Linked DNA regions of Homo sapiens: all the other regions are linked to region 1. The links are contacts of gene promoters, found by promoter capture Hi-C in human tissues and cell types (Jung and others, 2019). All regions are on one chromosome and are shown on one strand. Each heading gives the region's core, a stretch centred on a gene start or on the middle of the fragment in contact. The rest is flanking DNA. Distances are from core to core; before and after follow the strand shown.

Region 1 (4,035 bases), core at 577-3,076:
ATAGTTTTCTGCTGATAGTTGCTGCAAGCAACTGCAGCTTGCTCCTTAGCCTTCTACTGACTTGCTGTATTTAGCATATTTTATCAAATTTTGCAACCTCCTCTCCTCATTGCCCTCACTTGAGTTTTTGAGGTTCCTGTTTGTGGACAAGACTTACCAGATGTATGAAGCTGGTTATATAACTGATTGGTCAGCAAATATAATGAGGACGGACCCTGCGCCCACCACCGTGTACCTGTGTAAACACCATACTGCGCAAAGTCCACCAGCCTTCCAGGGAGAACATGCTGCACTGTGGGCGACACTGCCTCCGTTCCAGCAGCAATGTAAGCGGAGTCTGGGCTGACGATGGACGTGTGGATAGCCTGTATGTGTATATCTGTGCTCATGCTTCTAACACACATCCACCCTATTATGGACACGTTTATACATCTTCATGCCATGGTATTTTGTACCTTACTGCAGACCCTACCAACGCTTCAGTGAGGTTCTGGCAGCTTTGGGTTTTTGGAGGCTATTTGTCTGTTGCTGCGGGGACGGCTTTCAGAAAGAATGATCGCTTTGGGGGAATTGTACCCTGCTTTCCTGCGCAAATTCCAGCGGCTGGAGTTTGAGGCCCCTAGCAGATAACCCTTCTGCCCCTACCCCCATGAGTCTACATACAAGAAATACATCTCTAAAGAGGTAATAAGCCTTTCCGGTGTGCATGTTACAGATCTCTTAACCTTATATATACACAGATGGTCCATCACTTACCGTGGTTTCACTTACGATGTTTCGACTTCATGATGGGTTCACTGGGACTTGACCCCATTTTTTTTTTTTTTTTTTAGACGGAGTCTTGCTCTTGTCGATCTCTGCTCACTGCAACCTCCGCTTCTTGGGTTCAAGTTATTCTCCTGCCTCAGCCTCTTAAGTAGCTGGGATTAAGCGCCACCACGCCGAGCTAATTTTTGTACTTTTAGTAGAGATGGGGTTTCACTATGTTGGTCAGGCTGGTCTCGAACTCCTGACCTCAGGTGATCCGCCTGCCTCAGCATCCCAAAGTGCTGGGATTACAGGTGTGAGCCACCGCGCCCCCTGACCCCTTCTTAAGTGGAGAAATATCTGTATCTGCATGCCCACAGGGGAGCTCCTAATTACACCATGTGCCGCATCCAAGCCACAGGCCGGTGATGTGAAGACACCCGATCCAAGAAATACAATAGCATTAAGAAAGAAAAAATGCTGCCATGGATACTACCAAACGCCAAATGACTCTAACACGTAGGCTAATTGCAAGGACCTTAAAATCGCAAATAAAAAGGCGCCTGTAGGTCGGGCGCGGTGGCCCACACCTGTAATCCCAGCACTTTAGGAGGCGGGCGGATCACCTGAGACCAGCCTGGCCAGCATGGCGGAACCCCATCGCTACTAAAATACAAAAATTAGCCAGGAGTGGTGGCGCATGCCTGTAATCCCAGCTACTCCGGAGCCTGAGGCAGGAGAATCGCTTGAACCCAGGAGGCGGAGTTTGCAGTGAACCGAGACAGCGCAACCGCACTCCAGCCTGGACGACAGAATGAGACTCCGTCTCAAAAAAAAAAAAAAAAAAAAAAAGCGAGGGCTGGAAGTCTGGAGCAGGTGCGCGGCTGCAACGGCAGCCGCGGGAAGCTCGGGCCGGCAGGGTTTCCCCGCACGCTGGCGCCCAGCTCCCGGCGCGGAGGCCGCTGTAAGTTTCGCTTTCCATTCAGTGGAAAACGAAAGCTGGGCGGGGTGCCACGAGCGCGGGGCCAGACCAAGGCGGGCCCGGAGCGGAACTTCGGTCCCAGCTCGGTCCCCGGCTCAGTCCCGACGTGGAACTCAGCAGCGGAGGCTGGACGCTTGCATGGCGCTTGAGGCAAGTTCGGGGCTCATTTTGGAAGTTTTCTTTCTAGCACAGACATCCAACTCTGCTCCTATGCCAGTCAGATAATTAAGGAATTAAGTAATAATTGTGCTCTGCAAATTATGATAGTGATCTGTATTTACTACGTGCATATATTTTGGGCCAGTGAATTTTTTTCTAAGCTAATATAGTTATTTGGACTTTTGACATGACTTTGTGTTTAATTAAAACAAAAAAAGAAATTGCAGAAGTGTTGTAAGCTTGTAAAAAAATTCAAACAATGCAGACAAATGTGTCTCGCAGTCTTCCACTCAGTATCATTTTTGTTTGTACCTTATCAGAAATGTTTCTATGTACAAGTCTTTAAAATCATTTCGAACTTGCTTTGTCCACTGAGTATATTATGGACATCTTTTCATGGCAGGACATATAGATGTGTTAATGGCATTAAAAATAAAACAAAAAACTGATTCGGCCGGGTACGGTGGCTCACGCCTGTAATCCCAGCACTTTGGGAGATCGAGGAGGGAGGATCACCTGAGGTCAGGAGTTACAGACATGGAGAAACCCCGTCTCTACTAAAAATACAAAATTAGCCTGGCGTGGTGGCGCATGCCTGTAATCCCAGCTACTCGGGAGGCTGAGGCAGGAGAATCGCTTGAACCCGGGAGCGGAGGTTGCGGTGAGCCGAGATCGCACCGTTGCACTCCAGCCTGGGCGACAGAGCGAAACTGTCTCAAACAAACAAACAAAAAAACCTGATACATGGTATGGGAAGTACATTGTTTAAACAATGCATGGAGATTTAGGTTGTTTCCAGTTTTTACTGGCACAGATACGGCAATGAATATAATTTTATGTATACATTCATACAAATATATCGGTGGAAAATTCCTAGAAGTGGAATGGCTGGGTCAGTGGGCATTCATATTGAGAAATTGGAAGGATGTTGTCAAACTCTGCAAATCAGAGTATTTTAGTCTTAACCTCTCTTCTTCACACCCTTTTCCTTGGAAGAAAGCTAAATTTAGACTTTTAAACACAAAACTCCATTTTGAGACCCCTGAAAATCTGGGTTCAAAGTGTTTGAAAATTAAAGCAGAGGCTTTAATTTGTACTTATTTAGGTATAATTTGTACTTTAAAGTTGTTCCAGAAAACAAGGCAAATACTGAAAAGCATTTCATCTGAAGTTTCTTTCTGGTATTGAACAGAGTTGGATGGAGAGTGAATGCAGGTTACCGATGTGTTCGCAGGAACAAAACGGGAGGGAGAGTAACACAGGTGCACGGCTTCATATTGATTTATCAAAGAACTTGCTTTTGGACTGTTAAAAAATGTGTTGCACAGTTCTGACACTTTTACACAATGATGAGCTTACAAAGGGGAAAATGCTTAACATAAACATAGTTTCAAAGAAGGTAAGTCCTAGTTTTTCCACGAGCTGTTTTTTTTTTTGAGAGAGAGTAGTCCCAAAATTTCCCTATTATGTGGTTTTTCATCCAAAGTGTTGTAATCCGTGTGTTCTAACCCGCATATTACGATTACTCAAGAAATGCAAAATAGGCCGGGCGCGGTGGCTCACGCCTGTAATCCCAGCAATTTGGGAGGCCGAGGCAGGTGGATCACGAGGTCAGGAGATCAAGACCATCCTAGCTAACACGGTGCAAACCCATCTACTAAAAATAAAAAATATTAGCTGGGCGTGGCGGCAGGCGCCTGTAGTCCCAACTACTCGGGAGGCTGAGGCAGGAGAATGGCGTGAACCTGGGAGGCGGAGCTTGCAGTGAGCCAAGATCCGGCCACTGCACTCCAGCCTGGGCGACAGAGGGAGACTCCGTCTCAAAAATAAAAATAAAAATAAAAAAAGAAAAAAGAAATGCAAAATAATGTGAACACGTCATCGAGACTGCGGTCTACAATTGTGGTTGCCATGATGGGGTGGGTCGGAAGACACCGAGGCTGCTTGAATCATGTTCCTGGCAGGTTAATTTTGTTCCTTTTAGGGCATCTAAATGTTGGAGTTGGCTTTCCTGGCAGAGAGTCCAGTTGTGAGTGGAGTATTGGGTGGAGGCCCCACCCTCCCCAGGTTTTCTGCAGCTTGTTCCTGGCTCTTCTGGGGCTTCTCTGAGGACCCCGATTGGTCCTGGGGCTTCTTTAGTGGTGGGC
Region 2 (4,192 bases), core at 498-2,997, 340 kb before region 1:
GTTAGATTTGCTGTGATCCAACTGTGGAAAAAAAAAAAAAAAAGCTCTTGCCTCATTTTAAACTTCTAGTGTCTACATCATTTAAACTGCAGAAATCCTGAGATTTCCAAGTAAGCTGTTAAAAAAACCAAAAACCAACCAAATAAAAAAAACCATGTTGTCACTTATAGCAACTACAGTTCTTGTGTGTACTGGCTGGATGCCGGGGCTTGGTCATGTCCACCACTCTCTGCTATAACCTGTGTTTTCAAATCTGTGTTAATTATTAACATTTGAGAGTAATTCTTTTTGATTTTAAACTTGAACTTATCATCTTGTGAAAAGAGGTCTGCTGCTAGTTTTTTGAAAACCACTGACTTAGACGGCATTTGGGTTGTGTATGTTTGAGGAAATGTGATTATCTAATGACTAGAAGAAATAATTCTGGCAAAACCCTAACGCCAATCTTCAGTGGTATATTATTTTCCGGCCCTTTGGCAGAAGCTTGAATAACAGGGCCCGTGACAGGGGCGTCGAAGCACTGTTTTACACTCAGACTTCACGGAGGCCACAGGCGCTCAAGTGCTTTACGGAAACCACCAACCTTGATGGCACCACCACCTCAACCTCATGAGTAAGGAGGGCAGGGAGCTGTCTTCTTCCTGAAGGGCTTAAACCATGAAATGCGGTTATTCTGTCTGTGTGTTGAGATCTAATCCACTGCTTTCCATCTTGGCAGAAGTGATTTGTGGAGAAGGGCAAGAAGGAATGAAGATGAGCCTAGGCTCTCTCCTGATATCTTCTGCAAGAAGAGAAATGGCACGAGGGCAGGGCCCCATAGGCCCGGACGCAGTCGGGCACAGGTGGGCTGGGGCCAACTCCATCTGGGCTCAGGCTTAACTGAGGAGGCCAAATCAGAGTGCGCAGAGCAGGGCAGGGGGGCAGGGGCACCGCAGGTTCGCTGGGAAACCTCAGACCTTCTTAGGTGAACCCAAATCTCCTTGCTGTGCTTGTCTCACAGTAACACATCCCAGTCGTCTCAGCCTATCGGATGCTAAGTGCTTCAAGTTTTTGCATTTCCTTTGGTAGCCTGGACTTCATGCATTAACAGCATCAGGTGAGCCCAAACCAAGAACATCCACATCCTCACCTTTCTCCCCATCCCATCTCTTTGACTGAAGGTCATCACTGAGTAGCCCTATAAGCTGCAATTTCCAGGCCTTAAAGGGCCTGGGAAAGGAGACCTACTTCCATTCTGGACTCCCTCACTCCCCACCACACAAACTTCAGTCCTACAGGCCACAGGAATTCATCTTGACACCAGGCACTTCCCATGAGCCCATGGGTCAGTCTTTGAGCAAGATCAGATGGCAGCAGCTGGCCCTGCTCCTGGCCGCCTCCTCCCAGTTCGTCCATTTCACAGAGAGCCTGCCTGTCAGCAGAGGCACCCTGCTCCCCTCTGCCACACTAGAGTGAGGAAGTAAGAGGATACTCCTTTTCTTCATCCCCAGCTCACAATTTAAACGCTGAACCTGCAGGCTATAAAGAGACGGAAGTTCCCCCATCCAGAGACTAGACGAAGATTTGTGGATGTTTGAGAAGGCAGAGTGGCCACTGCACCCCCGGGGCTGGTCCTGCAGCTTCAAGGTCCTGAACCAATAGGACTTCCTGGGCCGTGGGGCCAGAGATGCCTCAGGCACTCCCTTGCATTCTCTGTGCCCAACTATGCTGAGCGCAGCCGCGCAGGTTCCCTGGATGGAATGGCAGGAATGAGCGCACCACATTCTCCAGGGCTTCCCTGCCAGGAGCAGCAGTCACGAGCACAGGGCCCTGCCAGCCACTCCCCGGAGTCTGCTCCACGTCGGCTGGTCACATACCCTGAGCCTCTCCAGCCCTGCCCTAAGTGACCAGCCTTCAGCAGACACAGGGCCTGGGTGCCCTCTGGAAATCTGTGTGTGCCGAGGGTGGCCACATGCTCCCCGACCAGCGGTGTTGAGGGCTCTGTGGGCAGGAGGGTCCCAGGGAACTAACGACATGAGGGGGTCTGGGGGTGCAGGCTGGGGACCTGCTCAGTGCAATTCTGTGATGGTTCCTTGCGGTTCAATCTCCCTCACTCCCAGTTATTCCCTCCTAGAGTAAATGGTGGGGTGGGAAGGAGGGGGAAGAGCCAGCGCTCGCCATCAGCATGCCGGGGACTGAGTTTCACTCTATGGGAAATGGCAGCCCAGAGGGGCTGTGGAGCAGGATGGGCCTGGGGCTGTCTCAGACAGGTATTTTCTTTTGCTTAACAGGAAGCCCCAAATCTCAGAGATGAAGGGCCCCAGAAAATCCTGCTGGAAAAGGAGCTGAATTCCAGGTGAGGTGAAGCAAAACTAGCCTACCACGGCGGGAGGGAGGGCTTCCTCCAGGAGCAGAGCTTAGGAGGGAGCCCGGCAGTACCTGCTTCGCCCCGGAGCGCCTTCTCCACAGCCACGCCCCTTTCCTCCAGCCGCCGCTGCCTCTCCTCCACCTGCTGCAGCTGCCGCTGGATGATCTATGACAGACAGCACAGACTGAGCACCCGGCTCTCCAGCCCTGCTTCAGGAGGACACACAACTCCACACCCACACGAGGGGAAACACAGGAGTTGCCGCTCTGGAAAGGGCTCTAGTCTGTGGGCGGTGCGCTCAGGGTGTGGCGTGGAGACCACCTGCACCAGAACCACCTAGCTTGTGTAGACGCCAGGCTCCGGGCCTTGCTAGTTAGCATCAAAGCGCGTGGACGTGACTCAAGTAGTGACCACCCTCCCAGGAGTGTTGCAGAGACAGGAAGTGGATGTAATCTGTGGCAGGAGGGGCCTGAGTACCAGAACCTCAGACTGTTCTCACGGCAAGACTGCTAGAGTGCTGGAGGGGGTTCCTGAAGAGTGCAGTGGAAATCCCATCTTTACGATAAAAATTTAAAACAGAAGGCCAGGCACGGTGGCTCATCCGTGTAATCCCAACACTTTGGGAGGCTGAGGTGGGCGGATCACAAGGTCAAGAGATCAAGACCCTCCTCGCTAGCATGGTGAAACCCTGTCTCTACTAAAAATACAAAAATTAGCTGGATGTGGTGGCACAGGCCTGTAATCCCAGCTACTCGGGAGGCTGAGGCAGGAGAATCGCTTGAACCAGGGAGGCAGAGGTTGCAGTGAGCTCAGCGCCACTGCGCGTCCAGCCTGGCCACGGAGTGAGACTCCGTCTCAAACAAAACAAAACAAAACAAAACAATAGAAATCTACAGTGGTCTAGATTCAGGGTCTGTGCAGCCTGAAAACAAGCTGGAGAATGGGAGGAGAGCTCTGACCTCTGACCTCTTCCCACAAAAATCCCAGGCCTATCAGAGGCTGAGGGGCCACAAATGGACTCCTGGTGACAGTCCTCACAATTGAATGAGGTGACTTACAATGATTATTCTACAACAAGGGATTCGGGAAACTCAATGCAGGGTTCTTCCTTTTTTTTTTTATTTTTATTTTTATGAGATGGAGGCTCGCCCTCTCACCCAGGCTGGAGTGCAATGGTGCAATCTAGGCTCACTGAAATCTCCACCTCCTGGGTTCAAGCGATTCTCGTGCCTCAGCCTCCCAAATAGCTGGGATTACAGGGGCCCGCCACTATGCCTGGCTATTTTTTTTTTTTTTTTTTTTTTTTTTGAGACAGAGTCTCTCTGTGTCGCCTAGGCTGGGGTGCAGTGGCACAATCTCGGCTCACTGCAAGCTCCACTTGCTGGGTTCATGCCATTCTCCTGCCTCAGCCACCCGAGTAGCTGGGACTACAGGCACTTGCCACCACGCCTGGCTAATTTTTTGTATTTTTAGTAGAGACGGGGGTTTCACCGTGTTAGCCAGGATGGTCTCAATCTCCTGACCTTGTGATCCGCCCGCCTTGGCCTCCCAAAGTGCTGAGATTATAGGCATGAGCCACCGCACCCAGCCAATTTTTGTTTTTTTAGTAGAGACGGGGTTTTGCCATGTTGGCCAGGCTGGTCTCGAACTCCTGACCTGAAGTGATCCGCCTGCCTCAGCCTCCCAAAGTGCTGGGATTACAGGCATTGAGCCACCACGCCCAGCCTGCTCTTCCCTTTTGACTGACAGCTCCACCAAGGCAGGGCCTCTGTGGCTGCACCAGCCAAAGGTGACCTGGGTGGCAGGGAGGCCCGTCTACCTCTGCTCTGCTCTGCACTGTGCTTG
Region 3 (3,984 bases), core at 1,240-3,739, 420 kb before region 1:
CATTTCTCCATTCTGTCTCTGCCATCAGAGGAATTTTAAAGCAAAGCTCTGATTATAATTTTGTACCTCAGAGATGTCAGTGACAAACCATCGCCTGTTGGATAAAGTCCATATTTCTTAGCTGTCATTCAGGTTCCTCCATGGTCCTGTCCTCACTGACCTTCTATTCTTCATGGGCACTCTGCATTAATTAAACAGGGCTCTGTCCTTATCTTCTTTTTTTTCTGTCTCTGTGCTTTTGCCTGCATTGTGTCTTCTGTGTACCCTTCGCCTGCCAAAATCTTACCCATTCTTCAGATGTCTGATAGAAATGCTAGTCCCTCCGTGAGGCTTTCTGTGATCTCCCTGCTTTCTCTGACCTCTACCCAAAGAGGTCTTTTTCCCATCTGAACTTTTTTTCTTCTTCTTCTAAGGAAAGCAACACTGCCATATGAACTCTTAATGGCACTTGGACTATGACATAGCATTATTTGTATACCCTACTAAGTGATAAATTCCTTGAGCACAAGGTCTTGCCTTTGTTTTCTCTGCTGTTTTGCATTAATTACTGCATTGAACATACAGGGTGAGTATCCCTTATCCAAAGTGCTTGGGATCAGAAGTGTTTTGGATTTTAATTTTTTTTTTTTTGATTTTGGAATGTTTGTGTGTATGTGATGAGATGTCTTGGGGATGGGAAAGCCCAAACATGACATTTACTTCTTTTTGTATGCACCTTATACATATAGCGTGAAGGTAATTTTATATAATATTAATATATTAATTTACAAATATACAATATTTATAACATAAATATATATAATATTTTGTGTGCATGAAGCAGATTTTTGACTGTGTTTTGCCTGCAACCCACCACATGAGGTCAAGTGTGGAATTTTCCACTTGTGATGTCATTTCAGCACTCAAAAAGTTTCGGATTTTGGGCCGGGCACAGTGGCTCACGCCTGTAATCCCAGCACTTTTGGGAGGCCAAGGCGGGTGGATCACTGAAGGTCAGGAGTTCCAGACCAGCCTGGCCAACATGGTGAAACCCCATCTCTACTAACAATACAAAAGTTAACTGGGCGTGGTGGCAGGTGCCTATAATTGCAGCTACTGGGAAGGCCGAAGCAGGAGAATCGCTTGAACCTGGGACGCGGAGGTTGCAGTGAGCTGAGATTGTGCCACTGCACTCTAGCCTGGGAGACAGAGCAAGACTCCATCTTAAAAAAAAAAAAAAAAAAACCTCAGATTTTGGATCATTTCAGATTTCAGGTTTTCAGATTAGGATGCTCTCAGCCTGTGTGTGAATTACACTGAATGTATATTAACTTAGGATTTTTTAGTTTCAAGGAGACTGCTCAGAAGACTGTCAAAAATTCTTTCTCTGCATTGGCCTACAAATACATGCATTCCATTCGGAAACTATGTAGGTTTAAACAGTGTTTCATTCCTAGAACTTCAGTTTAGGAAAGAATTTGCTTTCCAGATTGATGTTTATGTTTTAAATAGTTACCATTCTTTATTATTGACGCTTGTCCTTCGTTTCTAGGGCACTGTGTTTAGTCTTGAGTCAGAGGAGGAGGAATACCCTGGAATCACTGCAGAAGATAGCAATGACATTTACATCCTGCCCAGCGACAACTCTGGACAAGTCAGTCCCCCAGAGTCTCCAACTGTGACCACTTCCTGGCAGTCTGAGAGCTTACCTGTGTCACTGTCAGCTAGCCAGAGTTGGCACACAGAAAGCCTGCCAGTGTCACTAGGCCCTGAGTCCTGGCAGCAGATTGCAATGGATCCTGAAGAAGTGAAAAGCTTAGACAGCAACGGAGCTGGAGAGAAGAGTGAGAACAACTCCTCTAATTCTGACATTGTGCACGTGGAGAAAGAAGAGGTGCCCGAGGGCATGGAAGAGGCTGCTGTGGCTTCTGTGGTCTTGCCAGCGCGGGAGCTGCAAGAGGCACTTCCTGAAGCCCCAGCTCCCTTGCTTCCACATATCACTGCCACCTCCCTGCTGGGGACAAGGGAACCTGACACAGAAGTGATCACAGTTGAGAAATCCAGCCCTGCTACATCTCTGTTTGTAGAACTTGATGAAGAAGAGGTGAAAGCAGCAACAACTGAACCTACTGAAGTGGAGGAGGTGGTCCCCGCACTGGAACCCACAGAAACGCTGCTGAGTGAGAAGGAGATAAACGCAAGGGAAGAGAGCCTTGTGGAAGAGCTGTCCCCTGCCAGCGAGAAGAAGCCCGTGCCGCCGTCTGAGGGCAAGTCTAGACTGTCCCCCGCCGGTGAGATGAAGCCCATGCCGCTGTCTGAGGGCAAGTCTATACTGCTGTTTGGAGGGGCTGCTGCTGTTGCCATCCTGGCAGTGGCCATCGGGGTAGCCCTGGCTCTGAGAAAGAAATAGGAGGCTTTTCAGAAGAGAAAGACAGAAGGATGTAAGGTTGGAGTTGTATTGGCTGGAATTTGAACCTCCAGCAGCTGTCTGGACATTTGTGGAACACTCTGGGATAATTGGGGACTTCTGCTCAACATGGCAGTGGCATGTTAGGCATGTTAGGGCTTGAGGTGGGGCATTCACATTCATCTGACTGTAAATCCCAAGGGCCTCCGCTCATGCTAAATTGAGAATCTTAGGGGTAAAGCACCCCCTCCAGGACCGGGTTTCTCAGCCTTGGCACTAGTGCTGTTCTGACCATTCTCTGTGTTGGGGCTGTCCTGTGTGTGGTGGGCTCCACCCACTAGATGCCAGTGGCACCCCCTCCCAGAGATGACAAACGAAAATGTCTCTAGACATTGCCAAATGTCCCGTGTGAACATCCCCTATTGAGACCCACTGCTTTAGCGAGAGAGGGTTTACTTAGGAAGAATTGGGATAGAAATTCCCAGCTGAGAGAACTTAGCTGTGGGCTCCTCAGCTACTGACTTCTTAGCTCTTAATCCCCTTAGAATTTCATCTTTCTCGATGAGCAGGCTCTGCACCCACTCTTTTTTTGCCCCCCGCCCTCATCCTGGAGTGTGAGGGTGCTCGCCCGTACTCTCAGCTGCCTCTCAGGGACTGCACTGTTCCTCTTCACCCCCAGGTTCCTGCTAAGATCCCACGGGCGAGGGCTTGCTCTGGACTCAGTCTGTCAAGTCCCCGAAGCTTCCTGCAGCTCCACCTTGTAAAAATGCTGCCTTTGGGAATCTTCGAAATATGTACACAGAGAAAATCACATGAAGGAGACCTGGGGTCCCCACTTGTGAGTGCAACTGCAAGTAACTCTGGCTAGAGAGACACATGTGTCTTGTGTCAAGGCAGGAGGATAACCTGGATGACCTTCTGAGGTCTCTTCAGCCCTTTTCGCTAGTGGTCACCCACCACCATGGTTACTTGCCAGCAACATCTCTATTGCTGGATGGTCCCTGTCTATAACCTTGGGCTAGTATATTTTTTCCAATATGGGACCTTAGTCTTACTACTGATGAGTTCTATGGGTCTCTTGCTAGGGGGTAAGGATTTTTATTCTTGGGCTTATAGAGCCAGTTAGATCATAATTCTTATGAAATAGAGAGTGTCCTAAATATCACTGAAATAAAAAGTAGGAAAAAGAAGCTTGAATTTTAAGACTGAGGCTGCTCTGCAGATTCTAGTTTGGCTTTCAGAGTTCAAGAGTGGTGGCATCTTCACCTGAATTCTTCAATGCCAGGGTAATAAACCAAAATAGTCCTAATCAGTATATGCTAGTTGAGCATCGGCATAATTTTCTTTCCTCTGGCTGATCCCAGCCCTAAAGGAAGGGTAGACCCGTGTCTTTCCAGCCCTAAAGGAAGGGTAGACCCGTGTCTTTCCAGCCCTAAAGGAAGGGCAGACCCGTGTCTTTCCATGCCCGAGGGCCACGACGTCACTATGCAGGGCACACGTGGCTTGGTTTAAAAAGGTCATCTTAGATTTATCTTAGTAAATGTAATAAATTATTTTTTAGATCTTGAAATTTATAATAAAAATACTTTACCTACCCT
Region 4 (3,759 bases), core at 750-3,249, 360 kb before region 1:
GCTGGAGCGCCCCTGGCAGGCGGGTCTGGTCCGGATGGCTCCTCGCTGGGCTATGTGCTGACTGCTTTGATGGACAAGCACCCCACCCCGATTAGCTCAGTGGCTTGATGAGCTGTACACAGCCAGGCTGGTGCGGAACCGTGAGAAAGGAACAGTTTGGCTATAGGAGCTAGTGATTCGGGGCTCGCCCTTTATGTCCCCATGAAGATCCGGCACAAGGCAGGTGCCCGTCGCCTTCGGAAGGAAGGGCGGGAGTCGCTGATCTGCTTGAGAGGCACCAGCCTGCATCCCAGCATCCACTGCAGCACTCGCGTTTCCGTCTGGGTGAATCTTAGGCTGGGAGGAGGGAATTCTCACCAGCCACATGATTCCAGGGTCCCACCTTGCACCCTCTTGGCCTGTGTGGATGAGGGCCCATCCTGAAACCTTCTTTAACATATGTGCGGAGGAAGGTGATGCCCTGGCCCCCAAACTGAGACAAGGGCGAGTTCTGCAGAGCCGGAATTCTCACTGGGAGGGTGAGAGTGGCAGCTCTGCTGTTGGCCTGGCCCAAAACAGAACGGAAATGCACCCTCATCACATGAGTGGTCCAGATGGTCTAGCGCCAGGGTGAGGCAGGCACCGGGTGGAGGAGGGGACAGAAAGCTGTGAGGAGGACCCACACAGGGGTTCTGGGCAGCTCCCTGATGCCAGCCAGGCCAGTGATACGAAGAGAAAGGCTAATAAATAGATGCACGTGAGGAGCACCGGGCAGCCCCGGACCAGGTCGCGTAGGACGCACCAGATGCCGCTGTGGCTCCCGCACCCGGGCGCAGGTGATCAGTTCCTCTAGTAAAGATACACAAACGAAGTTACTTCTTTTCAAGTATTAAAAAATAAGTTAATTGACAAAAAGGGTTTGAAGCGGCTGAGCGTCTTGCCAGGTTGTCAGCTTCATTTCAACGTGCAAACACAGGAAAAACACGGAGGAAAAGGTCATCTCCTGTCCCGACATAAATGTGGAACAGGGACAATGCCTGTCTGCCAACTGGGGGCTTAGAATGTAGGGCCTCATCCTGTCCCCCAAAGTCAGCATTTTCCAGTGTCAAAATGGTTGTGAACTACAAGCAAAATGCAGCAACCCACAAGCCTCAGGCCACAGCCAGCAAGCGGCCCAGGCATTTGGCCACTTAGGGTCCAGTGTGTGGTGTTCGGCTGGAGGGCAGACCCCTCCTGCGTCCTCCTAATTTGCATAATAATTCAGGAGCCTGCCCGCACCTCCATGTCTCCTGTGATGCTGGGGTGGGCATGACTGGACGCCCCCATCCTGGGTCTCGATCGCACCCTGACCCCTGACCCTGCTTTCGTGGGGTATTGTTTACGTTTCTTTGGTGGTGCTCCAGGGAGCATGAAGAAGACAGTGCCCCTCGCACGGCGCACTGTGGTTCTGACGGGGAGCAGCTTCCCTCTCTTACCAAATGTGCCAGTGGAAAAAAGGGGCACAGCCAGCACATCCTCAGGGAGCGCGCGGGGTGGTCCCCTGCGTCATGCCATACACGCCGTGCTGCTCCTCTGAGTGGGAGGTCCAGGTGGGCCTCCTCCCAGGAGGTGGAGCCGTCTCAGATAACCACTGTCACCTGGGGCTCCCCACTGCACGCGGGACTCGACCACTTTCCAAGCAGCACACGGGCATCTGAGCGTAAACTCCAAGGAGGTGCCAGGCCTCCTCAGATCGCGGCTCCGGGTGGTTTGGATGCCACTGCCTGGCCAGGCGGATGCCAACAGAAAATGGAGCGTTGGGTGGGAGCTCAGGACCAGTTAAGGCTGAAGCCCTTGGACAGCATGGCAGCCTCCAGGTCCTTGTCCTCCTCTCTCTCCCGGAGCCGCTGCTCCTCCAGCAGCGCCACCAGTGAGTCTCTCTGCTCCACCACCTCCAGCATCTCATTGAGAATCTGCTTCTCTTCTGACAGCTCCTCCTCAGTCTTAAGGTGATCTTGAAGGAGAAGAAGGCATGAGGTGAGGGGCCTGGAGGTGGCACCCACCCTGGCCTCCATGGGTGCCTTACCCCACTCACCTTCCACTGCCATGCGTTCCCGGAGCTCCTGCTGCAGTCGACTCTGCCGGTCTTCCAGCTCCAGCTCCCGGGCACTGAGGAGGCAGGGCAGGAGGGAGACAAGCCACAGTGACTGGGGACCACCCCTCACCCCCAAATCTGGAAGGACCTCCATGCCGGCTGTGACAAGCATAGCGCTGACGCCCCCTACCCAAGGCCACTCACAAGATCATCAGCTCCGACTCGTAGCGCACCATGGCGTTCTTCTCCTGCACTAGCTTGAACCACTCCTGCATCAGCTTGGGGTCGTCCTTCTTGCCCATGCCTGCCGAGAGAACGCTTGTGTCGGGTGCAGGGAGTGCCGCGCCCACCCTGGCCCGCAGGAATCACACGGGGCAAATGTGCAAAGAGGGCCGAGCAAGATGCTGCCGGAACTTCCACTCCCAAGCCAGGCCCAAGGTTTGCCTGCAGCCATGGGGCCCTGGCGTCCCCCTTCCTGGGGCCTGCGCTTTCCCGTGTCCTGCCATCCCTGTTCACCCCGTCAGCGACCTCGCCAGCAGGGACCTTGCCCTCCCCGGGGCTGGTTTCTACCCCTCCTGCTCTGTGTGCTCTCTTAGGATGACTTACATTGCTTTCCCTCTTTTTTGCCACTCAATGTTTATTTGGCACTTGCTATGTACTAGGTCTCCTTGGAGGAAACCCGTCTTGTTAAACGAGACAAATGTGAATTTGTAAACTGCACCCTGCCCTCAGGTCATGCTCATTTAACTCAGCTCTTTCTTGGGCTACTGCCCCTCTCCAGGGGCCACCAGAATAGATGCCTTGTCCATTTGTTTACCTCCTGACCAGGAAGAGAAGATACCACCCCTTAACTTGTGGCCTATCAAGCTTCCGGATGCTCTCCCGCTGGATCCCGCATGGTCGATGCAGGGCATCTCAGGATGGCCGCAGGGTTTCTCACCAAGAGCAGAGAAACACTAGCAGCCCCTGGGGATGGAAGGAGGTGGCCACGCCCTGCCCTGGTCCAATCCAACAGAATGCCTGTGTCTGGTGGCTGCCTGCTAGCTCAGGCTGCCTGAACCAACAGGTGCCGATACCAAACCTCCCCCAGGGACGGCCTGACCACTGGGCTTCACTGTGGCAGGAGGACAGAAGGAAGAAGTCTCCAAGGGACCAAGCCACCCAACGAGAGAACAAGGTCCTTTTCCTTGGAGCACAGAAGTTCATGGCAAAAGTGTGGTCCTGCCTAAAATACATGCTGTGTCAGTGGCTCTTCAATATTTTTGGATTACAAACCACTTTGAGAATCTCATAAAAGCTAGGGACTCTCTTCCTAGAAAAATGCTTATGTGTGCAGAGCAAACCATTTGATGCAGAGTTCCAAGCTGCTCCTGGGCTTCCTGGGGTCCATCCATGGGCCTCAGGTTAAGGGGCACTAGACGGGGACATCTTTCAGAGGCCCTTGCACTCTCTGCGTCCCTTGGCAGGGGGCGTTCTAGGCCAGTTAAGACAAGCCCAGGAGTGTGAGGAACACAGCCTCAGAAGGGCCAGCCACAGCCCGAGTCCTCCCTCACTGCTAGCTGCCTTTCTCCACCTGCCTTTCTGGCACACGGTACACAGACACACCTCTTATCTGCAGTGGTGTCTGCTAGACAGTTAGTCTCTACCCAGTGGCCACACCAAGGAGGCAGAAATGCACCATGTTCAACAAGCAGGGGTTAGTGTCT
Region 5 (4,253 bases), core at 245-2,744, 470 kb before region 1:
GAGGTGGAGCTTGCAGTGAGCCGAGATCAAGCCACTGCACTGCACTCCAGCCTGGGAGAGAGCGAGACTCTGTCTCAAAAAAAAAAAAAAAAAAAAAAAAAAAAAAGAAAAAAAGACTCATACCTAGAAAGGTTGGACATAAGGGAGACAGCACAGGAGGAAGGGTTCTCCAGCTGGCTCTCCGAGGGGAGTGCATTGCGGTGTCTTAAGGAGGGTGGCATGCATGATTCACGAGGTAAGTGAGCATCACTACGTGTGTGGGGTGGAGTGCAGACACGGTAAGGAATCGTGCTAACACATGATCAGAAAGTGGCAGATAAGCGTCTTTCTGGGTGGTGATTTTAGTATTATAATGAGGCTGGTGATTAGGATTGGTCATTGTCCTTGAGCTCGTGTGAGTGGTAGAGCTCACTCCCTTGAGTAAGATTTATGGCAGGCTGCTGCCTATAGTTTCTTCATACCATACCTGCGAGGTCTGGTCAGCAGGTATGGTGCCAGTTGGGATGGCGCTGTAGGGTGTGGCGGTCACTGAGAACGTATGGAAAAACACATTAGTGGGGTGGGGCCAAGTCCCATTTCCTACTCTGTCGCACCTCCATGCCCCGCGATTACTCGTCTTGATCTGTCTCCTGGAGCCTTTTAGTGGTTGGTGATCATTGGCCCTGCTCATTAAGTCAGGTTACCCAATAGTACAAAACTGTAGTACATTAGCCAAATGAAAGAGGACTATATTATGCAGTGGGTGTGAGTATGTGAATTCAGGGACGGGGAAAGAAGGAGAATTAGATGGGCTGGGCGCAGTGGCTCACACCTGTAATCCCAGCACTTTGGGAGGCCGAGGCAGGTGGATCACGGGGCCAGGAGATCGAGACCATCCTGGCTAACACGCTGAAACCCTGTCTCTACTAAAAATACAAAAAATTAGGCGGGTGTGGTGGCGGGCGCCTGTAGTCCCAGCTACTTGGGAGCAGGAGAATGGCGTGAACCTGGGAGGCGGAGCTTACAGTGAGCAGAGCTTGCGCCACTGTACTCCAGCCTGGGGGACAGAGCGAGACTCCGTCTGAAAAAAAAAAAAAGGAAAATTAGATGGTAATTAGTAAAGAGTTTAAACCAAGGCTTATAGAGGTCCTGAGAGGGTCCATGAATGCCCTAAAATTGCTTGCCAAACATTGTGGGAGGAGGGGCCATTATTTTATTGACATTCTCTTAAGAGCCTGAAATCTCAAAAAGCCCAAGAACAAGAACTGCTGTGCTGTGATCACTGTCATAGAGGCAGGCTTGGACTTTGGGGTGTTTGATTTAATATAGTCCATGCTTGCAAGAATGGCGAGAGGCGACATTGTGCAGGGGTTAGGGCCCAGACCCTGAAAGTTGACTGCCTGGGTTTGTATCTGAGCTCTGCTGTTGGTGCACCCTTGGTCACATTTCTTCCCTGTGTCTTGGTTTTTCACCTGCAAACTGAGGATAATAGTAATACCTATCTCAAAGGGTTGTTATGAGCATTTTATGAGCATATGTGTATATACACATACATACATACGTACGTACATGTACATACAAAGTGCTTAGTATAGTGCCCCCAGCACTTGATATTAGCCATTATTGTGTATTGTTATCACTAAAACTAACTTGGGTGAAATTGGACTGTCAAATGACAGAGGTACTGCTTTCAGGCTTCAGCAGTATCTTTTTTTGTACCTTAGTACTTGCAAAGATATATAATTATCTTGCTGTATTTAGAAAACTTAGTAGCAAAATAGAATTAACCAGTAATAAGCATGAGAGACTGGTGATGAGCATAACTCATAAATCTAATGTGATTGGTACAAAGAAATCGTTATGCCCACAGTGGTGGAATTTTAGCCTCAGTTGTGTGCTTTGTGGACTTAAGCAGCAGTCAACTAACTGTTGTGGGCAGGGTTGGGGGAAGAAAAGAAAGAAAATTACAAAGCATGTATAAAATGCTAGAAGTATATCATCTAAAAATGTGTCCAAAAGTGAGATACAATTAGGGATCTATATAATTTGAAGTGGGGGGAATGGACATCTCCCACCACCACTGAAATATTAATAGCATGAATTCTTTTTGTTTTTATCATATTCCATCTTCATACTTTTTAAAAAGGATACATTGTCTACAAAAAGAGAGGACTGGCCCGACTTATTGATACATCTTTCCCAACCTCCTCTTGAGTTAATGTGTTTCTGAAGATTCAGCTCAATTTCCCTGTTTCTGGCAGAAACATCTGGAAAGGTGGAGACTTACTCACTCTCAATCCATAGGCCCAAATATTTCTACTAAAGGTTGTTTTTGATTTTTGTTTTTTAATTATTGCAAAAAGGATTTCCTCCCGTCCCTAATTTTGATAATGAATTTTGATTTTGCATTTTTTGGCTTAACAAATTGCTATTGTAGGGCTGGGTGCAGTGGCTTACGCCTGAAATCCCAGCACTTTGGGAGGCCGAGGCAGGCGGATCACAAGGTCAGGAGTTCGAGACCAGCCTGGCCAACATAGTGAAACCTGTCTCTACTAAAAATACAAAAAAATTAGCCAGGCGTGGTGGCAGGCGCCTATAATCCCAGTTACTTGGGAGGCTGAGGCAGGAGAATCGCTTGAACCTAGGAGGCAGAGGTTGCAGTGAGCGGAGATCATGCCATTGCACTCCAGCCCCAGTGACAGTGCGAGACTCCGTCTCAAAAAAAAAAAAAAAAGTGCTATTATATTCTAATGGTTTCTCTCTCCCTCTTTCAATAATAACCTTTTTTGTTGCTTTCAGGGGTTCAACTAGATATAGCTTCACAATCTCTGGATCAAGAAATTTTATTAAAAGTTAAAACTGAAATTGAAGAAGAGCTAAAATCTCTGGACAAAGAAATTTCTGAAGGTCTGTTTATTCTTATTTTTCTAGTTAATAAGCAGATTGTGTTTGTTATGGTTTACTGTTGGTTTAATTTGATTTTTACAGTGGGGTATTCTCAACAGTTAACAACTTACACCAATTATACATTGGTAGAAGTTTATAAGGGTAAAACTAGAAGGTAGCCTTTTTTCTTTCCTGGAGGATATGTTGATGGAAGTTCCCCAACTATACCTAACAGGTTAGATGTAGCAGTTTCTCATGTTAAGTATCGGATAAATGATCATGTTAAGGTTCTTTCCATTCACTATGGTTTGATTTGTATTTAGTATTACCTTTATAAGTAATAACGACATAAAAAGGAAAAAGTAAGCATACGCTTTTATTTTTGCATACATATATACTATAGATAACTGTAATTATAATGTACATTCAACTTTATAGCCATTTTATTTTGCACTTAACATTACAACATAAACTTTAAAAATAGTTACTCTACTAACTGCGTGAAATTTCATTCACTGAATAAATGTTTTTACTCAGTCATTCCATTATTATTATTATTATTATTATTATTATTATTATTATTACTATTTCAGAGACAGGGTCTTGCTCTGTTGCCCAGGCTGGAGTGCAGTAGTGAGCACTGGGATTACAGGTGTAAGCCACCATGCCTGGCCTGTTCCCTTGTTATTGAGGGGAGCATTTGGATTATTATTCCTTTTTTCACTGGACGACGACTACACAGCATTTGCATTATTTCCGGTTTTGTCTTCCATAGGTAATGCTGCACTGAACATCTTACCCAATGATATAAATATATTTTTACAGCTTTATTGAGATATATTTTACATACCATAAAATTCACCCATTTAAAAGGTCCAGTTCAGTCTGGGCACAGGGACTCATGCCTGTAATTCTAGCACTGTGGGAGGCCAAGGCCTCAGGAGGGTTGCTTGAGCCCCTGAGTTCAAAACCACACTGGGCAACATAGGGAGACCATGTCTCTATTTATTAAATAAATAATAATAATAATAAAGTACAATTCAGTGGTTGTAGTGTATTCACAGAATTTATCACCATGATCTAAATTTAGAACACTTTCGGTTCTCCTTAAAGAAACACAATACACATTAGCAGCCACTTCCCATTCCCACTAGCCCCAGGCCCCAACCCCACCCCACACCAGGCACCCACTGATCTCCATTCTGTTTTTATTGATTTGCCTATTCTGGAAATATACATAAATAGAATAGTTCACTATGTGGTGGTGGTGGTGGTGTTTTGAGATGCAGTTTCGCTCTCATTGCCCAGGCTGGAGTGCAGTGGCACCATCTCGGCCCACCACAACCTCCATCTCCCAGGTTCAAATGATTCTCCTGTCTCAGCCTCCT
Region 6 (3,966 bases), core at 671-3,170, 440 kb before region 1:
AAGACTTTAGAAGGGCACATGATAAGAATTATATAAGGGTTACCTATTATTGCTATCCAATTTGTCATAGCAAGCTAAGGGACCTTGGGCAAGTTACTCAAACCCTTTGGCTTCATTTATTTAAAAACAAAAACAAAAAAGACGCAGTTCTCTGCTTCTTTGTGCATATTTAAACTCATGGTTTATCCCATGAGTTTTATATTTTTGAGCCCTCGAAATTACTCCTTTGCATTTTATGTCAGTGAAGCCAAAGAGACAGATACTCTCAACAACACAAATATTTTGTATTAAAAACTATTTAGATTGTTAGAATGGTTCCGAGGCTACTTGTAGATATTATTCTTCTAATATGATAAGTTGTAAGTAATATATTATCCAAAACAGCTCTTTTTCTTTTAGTGAAAGCCTGCTCTTCATTATGACATTAATTATTAAGAGAGGCTCGGCCGAGCATGGTGGCTAACGCCTGTAATACCAGCACTTTGGGAGGCCGAGGTGGGTGACTCACAAGGTCAGGAGATCGAGACCATCCTGACTAACACGGTGAAACCCCGTCTCTACTAAAAAATACAAAAAATTAGCTGGGCGTGGTGGCAGGCACCTGTAGTCCCAGCTACTCGGGAGGCTGAGGCAGGAGAATGGCGTGAACCCAGGAGGCAGAGGTTGCAGTGAGCCAAGACTGCGCCACTGCACTCCAGCCTGGGCGACAGAGTGAGACTCCATCTCAAAAACAAAACAAAACAAAAAAAAGAGGCTCCAGCCCGGTGACATGGCAAAACCCTGTCTCAAAAATATAAAACTGAGGCTGGACGTGGTGGCTCACGCCTGTAATCCCAACACTTTGGGAGGCCAAGGTGGGCAGATCACCTGAAGTCCGGAGTTCGAGACCAGCCTGGCCAACGTGGTGAAACCCCATCTCTATGAAAAATACAAAAATTAGCCAGGCATGGTCGTGCATGCCTGTAGTCCCAGCAACTCGGGAGGCTGAGGCAGGAGAATTGCTTGAACCCAGGAGGCGGAGGTTGCAGTGAACCAGGATTGTGCCTCTGCGCTCCAACCTGGGTGAACAGAGAGAGACTCTGTCTCAGGAAAGATAAATAAATAAATGAAATAAAAAATAGAAAGATTAGCCAGGCATGGTGGTGGGTTCCTGTAATCCCAACTACTCAGGTGGCTGAGGCAGGAGAATCTCTTGAACCCAGGTTGCAGAACCCAGGAGCTGAGATTGTGCTGCTGCACTCCAGCCTAGGCAACAGAGTGCTATTAAAACAAAAGAAAACATTGACCGGGTGCAGTGGCTCACTCCTGTAATCCCAGCACTTTGGGAGGCCGAGGCAGGCAGATTGCCCAAGTCCAGGAGCTCAAGACCAGCCTGGGCAACATGGTGAGTGAGAGCCCATCTCTACAAAAAATATAAAAATTAACTGGAAGTAATCTGTGGTCCCATTTACTCAGGAGGCTGAGGCAGGAGGATCACTTGAGCCTGGGAGGTCAAGGCTGCAGTAAGCCAAGATTGCGCCACTGACCTCCAGCCTGGGTAACAGTAAGACCTTGTCTTAAAAAAAAAAAAAAAAAAAAAAAAAGAGGCTGCTATTTTTATATTTTTGTTTTATGTGAATTGGTCCCCAGGAGTAAAAGCTTAGTAATCTGTTCTTTCTTGTAAGACTTCTTACATAACAGCACAGAATGTTCAGTGAATCTTCATTAAAATGTCACGTCCTAAATACAGAAATACATTGTAAGGTAGGGAGGCCATGACAGCAAGACATAAAGCTATTTAATCTGAATTGGCCGGGTGCAGTGGCTCACACCTGTAATCCCAGCACTTCGGGAGGCCGAGGCAGGCAGATCATTTGAGGTCAGGACTTTGAGACCAGCAACATGGTGAATCCCTGTCTCTACTAAAAATTAAAAAAAAAAATTCTCCGGGCATGGTGGCGCACACCTGTAATCTTAGCTGCTCCGGAGGCTGAGGCAGGGGAATCGCTTGAACTTGGGAGGCGGAGGTTGCGGTGAGCTGAGATCACGCCACTGCACTCCAGCCTGGGTGACAGAGCAAGACTCTGTCTCAAAAAAAAGTAAATAAAAATAAAAAATAAATAAATGCCTGTAATCCCAGCACTTTGGGAGGCCGAGGTGGGCAGATCACGAGGTCAGGAGATCGAGACCATCCTGGCTAACACGGTGAAACCCCGTCTCTACTAAAAATACAAAAAAATTAGCCGGGCGTGGTGGTGGGCACCCATAGTTCCAGCTACTCGGGAGGCTGAGGCAGGAGAATGGTATGAATCCAAGAGGCGGAGCTTGCAGTGAGTCAAGATCGAGCCACTGCACTCTAGGCTGGGCGACAGAGCGAGACTCCGTCTCAAAAAAAATAAAAATAAAAAAAAATAAATAAATAAATCTGAATTGGCTTTTAAACAATATATTACGCCAAAGTTGTGATCAGACAAACTTGATCTAATGTCTTAGATGAGATGAAAAGATCCTCTAGATGTGGAACAAAGAACGTTCTTCAATCTTTTGTTAACTTTGAGCTGTTAAAAATAAGGGGAAAAGCCAGGCGTGGTGGTGCGGTGGCTCATGCCTGTAATCCCAGCAACTCAAGAGGCTGAGGTGGGAGGATCTATTGAGCCCAGGATTTTCAGGCTGTAGTGAGTTACGATTATGCCACTGCACTGTAGCCCCTGGGTGACAGAGTGAGACCCTCATTAAAAAATAATCATAAGAGGAAGAGACATTTTACTTTTAATTTTCAGTTTGTTGACTTTTCCCTTATTTCTTCATGATGGGCCTTTTTTTTTTTGAGACAGGGTTTCACTCTGTTGGCCAGGCTGGAGCGCAGTGGCACAATCTCGGCTCACTGCATCCTTTACCTCCTGGGCTCAAACGATCCTCCCACCTCAGCCTCTTGAGTAGCTGGGACCACAGGCATGCACCACCACACTCAACTAATTTTTGTATGTTTTTGTAGAGGTGCAATTTTGCCATGCTGCCCAGGCTGGTCACAAAATCCTGGGCTCAAGTGATTGCCTGCCTCTGCCTCCCAGAGTGCTAAGGTTACAGGCGTGAGCCACCACACCCAGCCATGATGGTACTTTTGAAATTTCCATTTTACTTACTTGGCTTAGAGCCCTAAAGGTCTGTTTACTGAGAACTAAAATTCTTAGTGTTTTCGTTATGACTCTTGTTTTTGTTTTTGCTTATTTAATCAGTTACTGCTATTAGAGGCTCTGTTTTTAGAAGTGCAGGTAAGTAACCTGTTGAGAATTCCTATCAGTTGTCACTTGAGACCTCTCTGATCACTGGATGACCCTTCTGTTTGAAGAACTGTGTAATTGTAAGGCACATCTTTTGACATGGCATGAAAACAGATTACAAAACTTGTATAGTATGAATAGAAAGTGAGAGCAGAGGTGACTCCAAGATTAAGAATAAAGAACATAAGAAATTATGTTCCTTGTCTCCAGGTAACTCAAGTTTGGAGGTGGGAGTTTAATAACGTTTTTTGAAGGTTTTTTTTTTTTGGTGTAAATTTTTAATGTAAGTGAAAGACTAGGAAGAGTACACTGTTTTAAGCCACTTGTAGTGAAGTAACTGATGTTCTTTGACTATTTTTCGTAACTCTGAAATGCAAATTATTTGATAAAATTGGATGATCTTCTCATGGTGAGACTGTGACAGATTTACTCAGTATTGTATATTAACTTTCCCAACTTGTTCTTCATTTAACAAAAAGACTTAGCCTAGTTTTAAAATGTTGATAGTTTCAATAATGAAAAAAGTTTAATCCTCCACAATGCCTCATCACTTTCCTGTTAGTGACATTACATTACAGAGATTTGAGGATGGAGGATTACAAAGCTGCTAAGCCATAGTATTAGTTTCTCATTTGGAAATTTTGAAAGAGCAAATAAATAACATAAGTGTACTACAGTTAATAAGGGACAAATGGGAACTTTGTGC
Region 7 (4,201 bases), core at 1,365-3,864, 500 kb before region 1:
TGGCAAAGCATGGATTAGAAAATAGCTTTGGACTCCATGTTAACTTGTGGAACTTAAAAAAAATTCCCTGTTCAAGCCACCAGTGAGTCATGAGACTAAAGAGCTGATAGCCAAGAAACTTAATGTTTTGTTGTTGTTGTTTGCTTTTTTATTTTTATTTTATTTATTTATTTTTTGAGATGGAGTCTCACTCTGTCGCCCAGACTGGAGTGCAGTGGTGCGATCTCGGCTCACTGCACGCCCCGCCTCCTGGGTTCATGCCAGGAGGTGTGTAGCTGGGACTACAGGCACTCGCCACCATGCCCGGCTAATTTTTTGTATTTTTAGTAGAGATGGGGTTTCACCGTGTTAGCCAGGATGGTCTCGATCTCCTGATCTTGTGATCCGCCCTCCTTGGCTTCCCAAAGTGCTGGGATTACAGGCGTGAGCCACGGCGCCCGGCCAACTTTTTTATTTTGAGACAGAATCTCACTCTGTTGTCCAGGCTGGAGTGCAGTGGTGCAATCTCGGCTCACTGCAAACTCCGCTTCCTGGGCTCAAGCCTGATTCTCCTGGCTCAGCCTCCTGAGTAGCTGGGAATACAGATGCACACCGCCACACCCAGCTAATTTTTGTATTTTTGGTAGAGATGGGATTTCACCATGTTGGCCAGGCTGGTCTCGAACTCCCGACCTTAGGTGATCTGCCCATCTGGTCTCCCAAAGTGCTAGGATTACAGGCATGAGCAACTTTGCCTGGTCTTTTAATGTTTAAAATTACAGCTTTTTGATTTGTGATGGATTTATCTGTGAATTTTTATTTTTCTCTTTATAAACTGGGATTATAGTTGTGTTCAACTCTGTATTACTGGAGCATTTAATAATTCTTTTTTTTTTTTTTTGAGACAGATTCTTGCTCTGTCACAAGGCTGAAGTGCAGTGGCACTATCTCGGCTCACTGCAATCTTTGCCTCCTGGGTTCACGCCATTCTCCTCTCTCAGCCCCCTGAAGTAACTGGGACTACAAGTGCGTGCCACCACGCCCAGCTAATTTTTGTATTTTTAGTAGAGACAGGGTTTCACCACGTTGGCCAGGATGGTCTCAATCTCTTGACCTCGTGATCCGCCTGCCTTGGCCTTCCAAAGTGCTGGGATTATAGGTATGAGCCACCACGCCCGACTGCATTTAATAATCTTATAATATTTTAGTGGAAGGAAATTTAGAAACAGGTTTTTGAAATAATTTATTAAAATGTGTTAAACTATAGGGTGTTTTGGTTTTCGTTCTGTGAGGTTAGAGAATACAGTATAAGTGTGATACTCTAAATTAGTATATCTAATGTGAGTGCTAGGAATTTCTTTTTTTTTTTTTTTTCTTTTTGAGACGGAGTCTTGCTCTGTCATCAGGCTGGAGTGCAGTGGCACAATCTCAGCTCACTGCAACCTCTGACTCCCTGGTTCAAGGGATTCTCCCACCTCAGCCTCCTGAGTAGCTGGGATTATAGGCACACGCCACCATGCCTGGCTAATTTTTTGTATTTTTAGTAGAGACGAGGTTTCACCATGTTGGCCAGGATGGTCTCGATCTCCTAACCTCGTGATCCACCCACCTCGGCTTCCCAAAGTGCTGGGATTACAGGCATGAGTCACCACACCCAGCCTAGGAATTTCTTTTTAAATAGGCATCCAAAGTAATTTGATGGGACAAGTTTGGGAAACAAATACAAAAGACTGTCATGTTGCTGCATATTTGCTTTACATAAGAACTAATAGTAGGATTTTTTTTTTTTTTTTTTTTTGGAGGCAGAGTCTCACTCTGTCACACAGGCTGGAGTGCAATCTAGGCTCACCGCAACCTCTGCTTTCTCGGTTCAAGCGATTCTCATGCCTCAGCCTCCTGAGTAGCTGGGATTACAGGCACACACCATCACGCCTGGCTAATTTTTTTATTTTTAGTAGAGACAGGGTTTCACCATGTTGGCCAGGCTGGTCTCTAACTCCTGGCCTCAAGTAATCCACCCACCTTGGCTTCCCAAAGTGCTGGGAAGTATAGGCGTGAGCCACCATGCCTGGTTTATAGTAGGATTTAATAGCTGCTGTGTACCTTCTGATTATGTTTCATAAAATGTGTCTAATTCCTACAATATAATCAGCACTGGTAGCATTCTGGAACTTGGACTGGTACTTGTAATAGAAATCTGGTTTAGAAAAGAAAATGAACCATATATTGTAGAATTGTGGATATACATTTGTTGTTAAAGGTTCATGGATGTTTTATTTGTGGCTGGTTTTGGAGATGACACCAAATGAATACATAAACACAGCATGAAGTTAGTCTAGGTTTCCTTAGGCTGTTTGGCTAGCAACCACAGTTGGCCCTCTTTATCCAGTTTCCATATCTCTGCAGATTCCACCAGTCTTGATTGGAGAATATTTAGGGAAAAAAACACAAATAACAATAAAAACAATACAAATGATACCAATACAGTATAACAGCTATTTAATGGCATTTACATTGTCTTAGGTATTATAAGTAATCTAGAAATGACTTAAAAGTATATGAGAGGGAGGAAGTGAGTAGGTTATATACAAATACCACACCATTTTGTATAAGGAACTTGAGCATCTGAGGATTTTGGTATCCACAGGTATCCTGGAACCAATCCCACATGGGTACCAAGGGACAATTCTACTTGAAACTTAATAGAGGAACAAAGTAAAAAGATTAAGGCACAGAAAGAAACAGGTGGGTTACATATTATGTTTAATAGTTTGAATCGTACAAATTATAGCAGGTTTTTTGTTTGTTTGTTTGAGACAGAGTTTCTCGCTCTTGTTGCCCAGGCTGGAGTGCAATGGCACGATCTCAGCTCACTGCAACCTCCACCTCCTGGGTTCAGGCGATTCACCTGTCTCAGCCTCCTGAGTAGCTGGGATTACAGGTGTGCATGCCACCACGCCAGGCTAATTTTTGTATTTTTAGTAGTGACGGTGTTTCATCATATTGGTCAAGCTGGTCTCAAACTCCTGACCTCAGGTGATCCGCCCACCGCACCCTCCCAAAGTGCTGGGATTACAGGCATGAGCCACTGCGCCTGGCCAAGATAGCAATTTTTATAGTTAAGATCATCTATGTATTTACTCACTTCTGGATACCAAGAACACTTGTACTAACTTGAATTTTAAGAGGTCCTATTAGATAAAATTCAATGAGTAAAGGTAACTATATGTCCCTCTCATCATTTGAAAAGAATCTTGAAATATCTGTCTTTTTTTTTTTTTTTTTTTTTGAGATAGAGTCTAGCTCTGTCGCCTAGGCTGGAGTGCAGTTGTGCAATCTCAGCTCACTGCAGCCTCTGCCTCCCAGGTTCAAGTGATTCTCCTGCCTCAGCCTCCAGAGTAGATGGGATTACAGGTGCCTGCCACCACGCCCAGCTAATTTGTGTGTGTGTGTGTGTGTGTGTGTGTGTGTGTGTATAAACTACATATATATATATATATATATATATTTTTTTTTTTTTTTTTTTTTTTTCTTTTTCTTTTTGGGATGGAGTCTTGCTCTGTCACCCAGGCTGGAATGCAGTGGCACAATCTTGGCTAACTGCAAGCTCCGCCTCCCGGGTTCACACCATTCTCCTGTCTCAGCCTCCCAAGTAGCTGGGACTACAGGCACCTGCCACCACGCCTGGCTAATTTTTTTGTATTTCTAGTAGAGACGGGGTTTCACCGTGTTAGCCAGGCTGGTTTCGATCTCCTGACCTTGTGATCCGCTCGCCTTGGCCTCCCAAAGTTCTGGGGTTACAGGCATGAGCCACTGCACCTGGCCTAATTTTTGTATTTTTAGTGGAGACGGGGTTTCACTGTGTTGGCCAGACTGGTCTCGAACTCCTGACCTCGTGATCCGCCTGCCTTGGCCTCCCAAAGTGCTTCTACAAAAGCTTTAGGTGATGGTCCCGCGTCATAATTACCTTTCATCCAATCTAGCTTTTTTTTCCCCCCGTCCATTCTCAAAACTGACAAATTTGCTTCTTTCAGTACTCTGGATCTGTGATACTACAAAAACCACCTTGTTTTGCTACCGTATCCTTCCGTATTACTAGTGTTAGTGTTTTCACCTCTGCATTCCTCTCACCTAGTACATTACCTGGCATATAGTAAATATGTGTTGAATAAATACAGTTAAGGTCTAAGAGGAAGTGAAGACGGTGTACCCAATTAAGTGG

The links. Contacts are between HindIII fragments. The study calls those that stand out against the background at their distance.
Region 2: a fragment that was not itself captured here is called in contact with the fragment with the promoter of USP18 in region 1 in 2 of the 25 tissues and cell types used here (lymphoblastoid cells and spleen).
Region 3: a fragment that was not itself captured here is called in contact with the fragment with the promoter of USP18 in region 1 in 1 of the 25 tissues and cell types used here (lymphoblastoid cells).
Region 4: a fragment that was not itself captured here is called in contact with the fragment with the promoter of USP18 in region 1 in 1 of the 25 tissues and cell types used here (dorsolateral prefrontal cortex).
Region 5: a fragment that was not itself captured here is called in contact with the fragment with the promoter of USP18 in region 1 in 1 of the 25 tissues and cell types used here (lymphoblastoid cells).
Region 6: a contact is called between a fragment that was not itself captured here and the fragment with the promoter of USP18 in region 1, in 2 of the 25 tissues and cell types used here (dorsolateral prefrontal cortex and lymphoblastoid cells).
Region 7: a contact is called between a fragment that was not itself captured here and the fragment with the promoter of USP18 in region 1, in 1 of the 25 tissues and cell types used here (dorsolateral prefrontal cortex).

What each region holds. Positions count from the first base shown.
Region 1 is chr22:18,148,344-18,152,378 of GRCh38, forward strand. It overlaps USP18 (ubiquitin specific peptidase 18), which reads left to right and starts at 1,827. Exons shown (of 11, transcript NM_017414.4): 1 at 1,827-1,879. It overlaps LOC124905076 (a long non-coding RNA gene), which reads right to left and starts at 871. Exons shown (of 2, transcript XR_007067999.1): 1 at 757-871. RefSeq lists an enhancer at 1,568-1,887. The HindIII fragment of the contact is 12,042 bases long and covers 1-3,100 here.
Region 2 is chr22:17,806,426-17,810,617 of GRCh38, forward strand. It overlaps MICAL3 (microtubule associated monooxygenase, calponin and LIM domain containing 3), which reads right to left. Exons shown (of 32, transcript NM_015241.3): 29 at 2,419-2,512. Among named protein-coding and RNA genes, the nearest start is that of LINC00528, 31 kb to the left of the region's middle. RefSeq lists an enhancer at 2,248-3,044. The HindIII fragment of the contact is 6,514 bases long and covers 1-4,192 here.
Region 3 is chr22:17,725,146-17,729,129 of GRCh38, forward strand. BCL2L13 (BCL2 like 13) reads left to right here. Exons shown (of 7, transcript NM_015367.4): 7 at 1,532-3,984. The coding sequence ends at 2,389. Among named protein-coding and RNA genes, the nearest start is that of MIR3198-1, 37 kb to the right of the region's middle. The HindIII fragment of the contact is 3,423 bases long and covers 779-3,984 here.
Region 4 is chr22:17,788,945-17,792,703 of GRCh38, forward strand. It overlaps MICAL3 (microtubule associated monooxygenase, calponin and LIM domain containing 3), which reads right to left. Exons shown (of 32, transcript NM_015241.3): 30 at 2,258-2,357; 31 at 2,054-2,127; 32 at 1-1,972. The coding sequence ends at 1,788. Among named protein-coding and RNA genes, the nearest start is that of LINC00528, 14 kb to the left of the region's middle. The HindIII fragment of the contact is 5,973 bases long and covers 1-3,759 here.
Region 5 is chr22:17,680,436-17,684,688 of GRCh38, forward strand. It overlaps BCL2L13 (BCL2 like 13), which reads left to right. Exons shown (of 7, transcript NM_015367.4): 3 at 2,779-2,886. Among named protein-coding and RNA genes, the nearest start is that of BCL2L13, 44 kb to the left of the region's middle. The HindIII fragment of the contact is 4,441 bases long and covers 1-3,715 here.
Region 6 is chr22:17,708,510-17,712,475 of GRCh38, forward strand. The region is part of intron 6 of BCL2L13 (BCL2 like 13); the gene reads left to right. Among named protein-coding and RNA genes, the nearest start is that of MIR3198-1, 54 kb to the right of the region's middle. The HindIII fragment of the contact is 6,813 bases long and covers 1-3,966 here.
Region 7 is chr22:17,643,470-17,647,670 of GRCh38, forward strand. The region is part of intron 1 of BCL2L13 (BCL2 like 13); the gene reads left to right. Among named protein-coding and RNA genes, the nearest start is that of BCL2L13, 6.8 kb to the left of the region's middle. The HindIII fragment of the contact is 4,256 bases long and covers 487-4,201 here.